3 separate regions of the Homo sapiens genome follow, and all the other regions are linked to region 3. The links are contacts of gene promoters, found by promoter capture Hi-C in blood cells and fetal thymus (Javierre and others, 2016). All regions are on one chromosome and are shown on one strand. The core of a region is centred on a gene start or on the middle of the fragment in contact, and the rest is flanking DNA. Distances in the headings are between cores, read along the strand shown. Region 1 overlaps CYBRD1 (cytochrome b reductase 1). Region 2 overlaps DYNC1I2 (dynein cytoplasmic 1 intermediate chain 2). Region 3 holds the start of RAPGEF4 (Rap guanine nucleotide exchange factor 4).

What was found. The method cuts DNA at HindIII sites, captures the fragments that hold promoters and counts their contacts. A CHiCAGO score of 5 or more calls a contact.
Region 1: a contact is called between a fragment that was not itself captured here and the fragment with the promoter of RAPGEF4 in region 3, in 4 of 17 cell types (non-activated CD4 T cells, naive CD8 T cells, activated CD4 T cells and 1 more). The highest score is 6.7, in non-activated CD4 T cells.
Region 2: a contact is called between a fragment that was not itself captured here and the fragment with the promoter of RAPGEF4 in region 3, in 4 of 17 cell types (naive CD4 T cells, activated CD4 T cells, non-activated CD4 T cells and 1 more). The highest score is 9.2, in naive CD4 T cells.

Annotation. Positions count from the first base shown.
Region 1 is chr2:171,554,575-171,557,274 of GRCh38, forward strand. CYBRD1 (cytochrome b reductase 1) reads left to right here. Exons shown (of 4, transcript NM_024843.4): 4 at 1-2,700. The coding sequence ends at 253. Among named protein-coding and RNA genes, the nearest start is that of CYBRD1, 33 kb to the left of the region's middle. The HindIII fragment of the contact is 3,012 bases long and covers 1-2,700 here.
Region 2 is chr2:171,706,899-171,709,598 of GRCh38, forward strand. DYNC1I2 (dynein cytoplasmic 1 intermediate chain 2) reads left to right here. Exons shown (of 18, transcript NM_001378.3): 5 at 389-479. Among named protein-coding and RNA genes, the nearest start is that of DYNC1I2, 21 kb to the left of the region's middle. The HindIII fragment of the contact is 165 bases long and covers 1,366-1,530 here.
Region 3 is chr2:172,734,582-172,737,281 of GRCh38, forward strand. It overlaps RAPGEF4 (Rap guanine nucleotide exchange factor 4), which reads left to right and starts at 1,264. Exons shown (of 31, transcript NM_007023.4): 1 at 1,264-1,467. The coding sequence starts at 1,403. RAPGEF4-AS1 (RAPGEF4 antisense RNA 1) reads right to left here and starts at 1,625. Exons shown (of 4, transcript NR_026995.1): 1 at 1,545-1,625; 2 at 714-880. The HindIII fragment of the contact is 2,798 bases long and covers 1-2,556 here.

The DNA.
Region 1 (2,700 bases), core at 87-2,586, 1.2 Mb before region 3:
GCTTGGCCTTCTGATCCTGGTGTTCGGGGCCCTCATTTTTTGGATAGTCACCAGACCGCAATGGAAACGTCCTAAGGAGCCAAATTCTACCATTCTTCATCCAAATGGAGGCACTGAACAGGGAGCAAGAGGTTCCATGCCAGCCTACTCTGGCAACAACATGGACAAATCAGATTCAGAGTTAAACAGTGAAGTAGCAGCAAGGAAAAGAAACTTAGCTCTGGATGAGGCTGGGCAGAGATCTACCATGTAAAATGTTGTAGAGATAGAGCCATATAACGTCACGTTTCAAAACTAGCTCTACAGTTTTGCTTCTCCTATTAGCCATATGATAATTGGGCTATGTAGTATCAATATTTACTTTAATCACAAAGGATGGTTTCTTGAAATAATTTGTATTGATTGAGGCCTATGAACTGACCTGAATTGGAAAGGATGTGATTAATATAAATAATAGCAGATATAAATTGTGGTTATGTTACCTTTATCTTGTTGAGGACCACAACATTAGCACGGTGCCTTGTGCAGAATAGATACTCAATATGTGAATATGTGTCTACTAGTAGTTAATTGGATAAACTGGCAGCATCCCTGGCCTGTTGTCATGCAGTCATTTCCTGTTAATTCTGGGAGACAATGATTTCACAACTAGCGGGAAGCAGTCCTAAAAGTTTAAAATCCGATAAGGAATATCTGGGACAGGGTTTAGATCATGACTCTACACAGATACCATGATGAGAGTATATTAAAGAAATTTAGGAAAGCACCTGGTTCCTTTCTCCCCATGCCTGCCTTCTGCTCCCTCCCCAGCTGGTTTGGGCTCAAATTGTCCCTGGAGACTAGGGTTTATGTTAGGGTATTGATAGATTAGAGCAGGTGGTTGAAGAGATCTTCTCTGGTCAGACTTGGAAGAATTTCCAAAACTGAAGTTAGCCCCAAGACTTCCCTAGGGTTGATGTACTTTATGATCCAGATGCTAAACTTCTTAGAATGAAAATATGCTTCAACACTTAAGTAGCATACACTGCCCTACAAACCTCAGAGAGCACTTTTCCCCAAGTTCTTGTTTTTATTTTTGAAAGTACTCACACAGCACTTACTATGCTCCAAACACTCCTCTAAGCACTTTACACATATTAGCTCATTCAGTCCCCAGACAGACGGGATGAAGTAGGTATTGTTACTGTTCCCATTTTACAGGTGAGAGATTTGAAGCCTGGGGAGGCTAGTAACTCACCCCAAGGTCACACGGCTCATACATGGTGGGACTGAGACTCAGATGCAGGCAGTCTGGCACCTCAGTCTGGATTCTAACCATTTCACTAAGCTATTTTTGTCTTGTACTACTTTGACCCACCCCTGAATAAACCTCAATTGCTGGAGTGGGGTGTAGTTATTAAAGGGATGCTTTTTACCTTTTGCTGTTTGCTGTGGCAGATTCCCCAGATAACCAAGGAAAAGGGGCCACCCATACCTGGAAATAGGCCATAGGGCCCCTACTACTGCCAACAAGCCATGGCCTACCTTGACACTTGTTTGATCTTAAAATTGTGTCTTGGTAACAAAAGATTTGGACAGGCATATCTGTAGCTTTCAAGTTAATTAATTGCAATATTTTTTTCTTCAGGATTTTAGCTGCTGAACAACTTTCAGTTTGGAGCTAAAAGAGACCTGTCTCATGGTCTGCCCTTCCCTGGGGCAATAGCTAGGGTCTTTCCTGATTTTTATGGAATTTTAGGGGATATTTTGAGCTTTGGGTTCTCAGTAGTGAATTGAGACTTGGAGGTGACTTTTCATGTTTGGAGTATCATCTCTGTCTGGGATCTGGGCTGACAAATTAAAACCTAGAGTAGTGCTTATGCTGAAATGATACTTTTCATTTTTTGGTTGATTTTTTTGCCTTCCCTTCAATTTTAAACTGAAGCATTTTAATATGGGTAGAAACTCTACACCAAATACACTAAACATTTTGGTGCTTAGTGGATTTCTTTTTAGGTAACTGGTACTTACTTCCAAAGACTGAATACAAGCCACACTCCATCATATCCCTTAAACTTCATGAAAAACCATTCAAGATCCCCTTGCTGCAACACTGTTCTCTTCTTCTCTACTAAATTCTATTTCCAAAATTGGTAATAGAGCCAGAAGGATCCCCAGTACCCAGCCCTCTGCCTGGCACAAAGTGGTAGCACAATTAAATTCAGTATGGGTGGAGCATGGTACAGTCTTGGTGCCATAGAAGGAGTAGTTGCATAGTCACACATCATTTGATAAGTTGGATGTTCCATTACATAGAGGAACACAAAATTCCAGGGTTTTTGGAGGAAGGGATTAGATAGTGACTAAGCCGCCAGAATTGAGGTGGCCATTCCTTTTTGTATAGGCTAAGAAACAGGTTATCAGTGAAAAGTTAATTATGGCTTTGGCACTAGAATAGCACTGTTGCAAAGTATTTAAGCACCCCCCATCTCAGCCCTTTATTTTATCTTTCATGTGGGCTAATGTGAGGATAATCTTACAGATATTATAGGAATTTCTTTTCTATCTTTATGAAAACAACGTATATAAAATATATCTAGAAAACCTTTGTTTGAGACTCTTATTTAATGGGCTTTTGATTCTAATGATAATTGTACCTTTATCTTTCAAAAGCTGATATTTCCTACCTAAGCATCTCCCGAGAAAAATATCTCATTAAAA
Region 2 (2,700 bases), core at 198-2,697, 1.0 Mb before region 3:
ATTGTAAATAATATTTATAATCTGGTGATATTAAAAGTGAAAAGTTACAAGGGGGAGAAGGAATGCTCTCCTTTGAAAATTAGTGGCCACATTTGGTGATGGATGAGATGAAGATGCATCCTTCCATAATCTTGCCTTTTTAAAAAAATTATAAAGCTCAAATGCATTTTGCCAGAAAAATTGCATGAATCTTCAGCATGCATTGTTAACTTTTTGTCTTTTCCCCTTTCTTTCTGCTGTTCATTTTCATTCATATATTTTTGATTTTTGGTTTGCCATTGTTTTTTTCTTTTTTGTTAATTACTTCATTAAATTATTTTTGAAACGTCATAAGCTGAGCAACCTCTCCGTGTAGTAACAGCGGATACCTGTCTATTTCACTATTTAGTCCCTCCTCCTATGTCTCCATCCTCCAAATCTGTGAGCACTCCAAGTGAAGCTGGAAGCCAAGACTCTGGAGATGGCGCCGTGGGATCTAGGTACAGTAATTTTCCTTTTAATGTTTTAATGATAGAATGCATTCAGTGCCCAAATACTGTTGATACTTTAAAGGGACTCTAAATAGTTGTGTCGAGTTAGTCCTAACATTTTAAAATCTAAAATGGCATAGAAATTCTCTGTTGGACACTGGGAGAAAAAAAAGGTTTCTTTGTTTTTTTTTAATAATATTTTAACTGTCACATTTAATTAACTTAGTACTAAATAGTCAACCGGTTTTATGCTAATTATTTTATATTAAAAATAGAGATATTAATGCTTTTAGATTTTTCTGTTTAAACTTTTTGTTGGTTATTACGTGAATGTTTTGGGTGTAAATAGTGTAAAACCTCTCTCTTGTGCTTGATTCCCCATTCAGTAATTGAAAATGTAAACAATTCTGTTAAACAGTTCAATTCTGTTCTATTAAGTCATTAGTTCTGCTAATTAAGATAGAGAATAATAATGCATAAAATGTCAAGAGTAAGGAATAACTGCTAAGGACAACATTGAGAATGTTTACTGTCAAGCATTCCTGAACTTGCATCTTCCTTGTAAAATTACATTTCGTGTTTGTTTTAGGATCCTGCATACATGTTGGGACTTGCTTTTCAAAAGTTCAGTAAGATTTCAGCTTTCTTTCAAAGATCATATTGGGAAAAGTATTACTACTTATTCCTCTTTGTCTCTCTCACACACACACACACACACACACACAAAATAGTGAGTATTAAATGTACTTTTTGACTTCTGAAATGAAATTAAACATAGGTAGTCAAAATCCACAGCTGATTAAGAATGCTTATTTTGGGCCAGGAAGTTGCATGTCCTCACCAAGAAAATCTCTTAACACACCTTTTAATAAGACATAAGCTGTTAGAAGTTTTAAGCTTTTTATGCCTGAGTCCCTCTAGTTGAAGTTACAAACCAGTAATAAATATCTAAAAGACAGGGCAAGAAAAAAAAAGCAAGGTGGCTGGATGATCTGTAAACTCAATACTTCAATCAGCTCTTGAATAATCAGGTTATCATTAACAATTAAAAGGCACATAAAGCTTGCCAGCTTGAATTTGAGAAGTGCTTTCCAAATAGAACCAAAATCACAAATCTAAGCTATACTATCTTTGGAGGAAAATGACATAACTCTTTCATTTAAGGAAAATCAAAATTTTCTTTTTAGAAATAATGTTATTACCTTATAAAATAGTATGCATTACAGAATAAAGACAATTTGTCTAGTGTAAATTCATTTTTATAGGGTTAAAATTTTTTTTCATATTTTGTGCTTCTATATTTTTATACAAATATGTCATTATTCCTTTATTTTTTATTTTTTTTGCAGACAGGGTCTCTGTCACCCAGACTGGAGGGCAGTGGCGCAATCTTGGCTCACTGCAACCTCTGCCTCCTGGGCTCAAACGATCCTCCCACATCAGCCTCCCGAGTAGCTGGGACTGCAGGCACGCACCATCATGCCTGGCTAATTTTTGTATTTTTTATAGAGACAGGGTTTTGCCATATTGCCCAGGCTGGACTCGAATTCCCAGACTCAAGTGATCCACCCACCTTGGCCTCCGAACGTGCTGGGATTATAGGCATGAGCCACTGCACCCAGCCACTATTCCTTTAGACAATTAATAATCAACTGGCATTTTTAAGTGAAAGCGTTTTTTTTTCCCTTCTACAACATTACCATAGTAAAAATGTTTCCCAAGATTAAAAATTACTATATTTATTAAATGTCTTTATTTGATATTATACATTATTTTTATGTAGATACTATACTGTGTACATTATGACTCATCGTTCCTGATTTTGAATAGTAGATTATTTTAATTCAGTGTCAGCAAGTTTGCTTTCAAAAGTACTTTGACACTTAAGTTTTTTAAATTAATGTGAATTAAAACATGTCCCCATGAGTTTTATGGACAACCCAGAGATTATTAGAGACCTTTTAGAATATTGTAAATTAATACAGGGAGTAATAATGGTAAGAAAAATATTTATTCATGTATAGAACAAATATTAAGTTACCAACTTTATTAAAATACTATGGTTTACCACAGAAGATAAAACATTCATGGTCCTTGCTTTCATAGAATTTACATTGTAGTGATTACATCATTAATTTAAAGATACTGTTGACTTTATTGGAAAGCCCTAAGGGTAGTGTGCTATGTTTAGTGTGAAGCATAGTTTTTTTAATGATAAATTGTAAAACAC
Region 3 (2,700 bases), core at 14-2,513:
GGGAACACTGTGGCAGGTCTGAAACTAGATCCTGGCTATCCAGCAGAGGGAAATGGCACATATTTGGAGGCTTTTATATCATGGTAATAATTGTTTTATTAGGATCAAAGCATCCCAGAAAGCACTTGCTCTTTCCTTCTCTCCAGTCCCCCTGACTCTCCCCTGAGCAGGGTTGGATAGGAGGTTTGGTGGGGGGAGGAGGCAGGGAACAGTAGAAGAAAGCAATGCTATGTCCCTTTCCCCCATTGTCTGGCCCCAAATGTAGTGCCATAAATATCAAAACAGTGCTTGGTAATAGTCCAAAACATTTAACTTGTCCGCAAATTCCTAAACAACCATTGGCGTGTAATTTGGTTCTTGGCAGAGTGTAACTGAATAACTTGTAGACATGACATTTGTGTGAACATCTACAAGAGACAGGCCGTTATCACCACCCATTCAACACTCCAGCCAGAGGAAGAACAGCAAGGGGGCCAGCCATACAAGTTCACCTGCGCGTCCGGGGTCTCGGTTCTGCTGTGGCCCGGCTACTCCCCATTCTCAACTGTGTTTTCTTCACCATGCAGGTGATGGAAGCCCAGGCAGGCCCAGGGTTCAAGGCCAGTGACTTCAGCCTGTCACCCCCTCAGACCACATCGGGCCCACCGGCCTCCTCCCTCCCTGCCCCTCAGCCCTGCCCGCACTGCCCCCCATTGCGCCCAGCCCTTCCTCACCCCGCAGGAGAAGCTGGCCTCTCATTCCTCACTGAGAGACTCGACGGGCGTCCCCACGCCAAGCCTTCCTCGCCCTCCCCTCCAGCCTTTTCTGAAGGGGAGACAGCAAAGGTGAGCAAGCAACCGCCGGCAAGTTTCGACAGCTGCTGAGGAAGACTCATGGGTTTCTAAGGAAACAGAGAGGCAGCAGCCATTTTAGTAGCATTTGCTGTATGAAAAATATATAGACACTGGCAGCCCTCTCCCCACTCTGCCTTGGCGCCTGCCCTCCCGCCCCGCCTCAGAGGCCCCGGGGTGAGGGTGGGGCCCCAGTCTCCGAGGGACGCAGCGGACACCTGTCGCAGGTGGCCGGCCACCGGGGTCGCCACCCCCAGTGTCCCCCAGCAGCGGGACCGCGGGGTCCCCACCCCGGGGCGGAATCCCCACCCACGGGCGCCGCAGTGCAGCGGCGGGCGGGCGGGCGACTCGGCCCTCCCCGCACCCGCGTCCCGCCCCCCGGGTCCCCTCCCTCTCCCCACCGCCCCAGGCCGCGGGAGCCCGCGGGGAGGGCGGGCCTGTCGCAGCCGCGCTGGTCGCCAGGCGTCCGGGAGGAGCGGGGTCCGCGCGGCGGACGAGGCGGGGGCGGAGGCGCAGGCAGAGCGAGCGCGGGAGGTCGCCGCAGCCAGGGACACCGCGCGCCGCCGCTCAACATGGTCGCTGCGCACGCTGCCCATTCTTCCTCCTCTGCCGAGTGGATCGCCTGCCTGGATAAAAGGTAGCTCGCCGGGGGCCGCAGCCGGGGGCCGAGCTCTGCGGTGCTGCCCGGGCCCTGAGACCGCCGCAGCTCCGCACCTGGGCGCAGCGCGGCCGGGCTGCGGGTGGCCGGGGTCCCCGAGCGGGGGAAGGGGTTGAGGTCCTCGTCCGGGAGACAGGAGGACAAGGATCCCCGCCTCTCGTGGGGTGCCAGCGGCATGAGATTATTACACGTGGTGGAGAAAATGCAGCGCAGTAAGGGGAGAGAGCACCCACCTCTCCAACCCCCTGCCCTGCCGCGACTCCAGGCTCCGCTCCTGGGTGGGGGTTTATTTTCTCTTGGCATCACGGGACAGAAGAATCGATGCATACCCTTTCCGGCTATTCAGACCTTGCGGGGTATGAAGTTTTAAAGAGGGGTGGGGGCACCGGCAGGTGCAGAGTAACATTCTTTTTTTGTTCTTGAAAGCAAAGTGTGAGGGACCCGGTGGAGCTGTCGAATCCCTTGCTGAAATTCACAGCTCTCTGCCCCCGCAGTCGCTCGCTCAAGGTCTGTGTTAGAGAAGGTCATTTGGGAGGCTGCTTTCGTCTTAATACCTGCTTCTCGGGAAAAGATCTTTACGCTAAAAATAATTAAAACCATAAAGCATGTAACTCCCGACGACAGCTCTCTCTAAGGAGGATGTGTGTGTTAACAGTGGATTGCAGTTGTTTCCAGGCTGTGACAGCATAATTTTCTGTTTGTCCAGATTGCAGGTTTAAACGTTACACAGTATGTTAGCAATTATAGCTTATTACCCTGATTAAAAGGTGATGCATCTGAACTTTTAAGAACTGAGCAAGAAATCTTGCAGAGTGAACTGCCTCTGAATTTCGGAGTTTGATGCAGAAGGGCAATGATGCACGTCTTGCAGCTATCTGCATGACATCTCTATTTGCATTTGTGTGAAATATTTTGTGCTCTGCCATATTGAAAAATTTTCAATTAACAGATTCGTAACCAGATCAAACTTGAAAATCTTAAGTGTGACGTGCTTTGCATACTCTATTATAGGCCTTTGTTGAAAAATATTAAGTAATTTGAGAAAAGCTAAATGTAGCTCATTTGAAAAGCTTAATATATCTGAGAAATAATCTTGACTTTCAATTACCACTCAGTAGCAAGATTTTTTGGCAGGTAGTGCCCTATTTATGTCTAAAATGATATGTACTAATATTAAAAGAGTTGCATGCAATAAATAGTAAGAGAATTAAA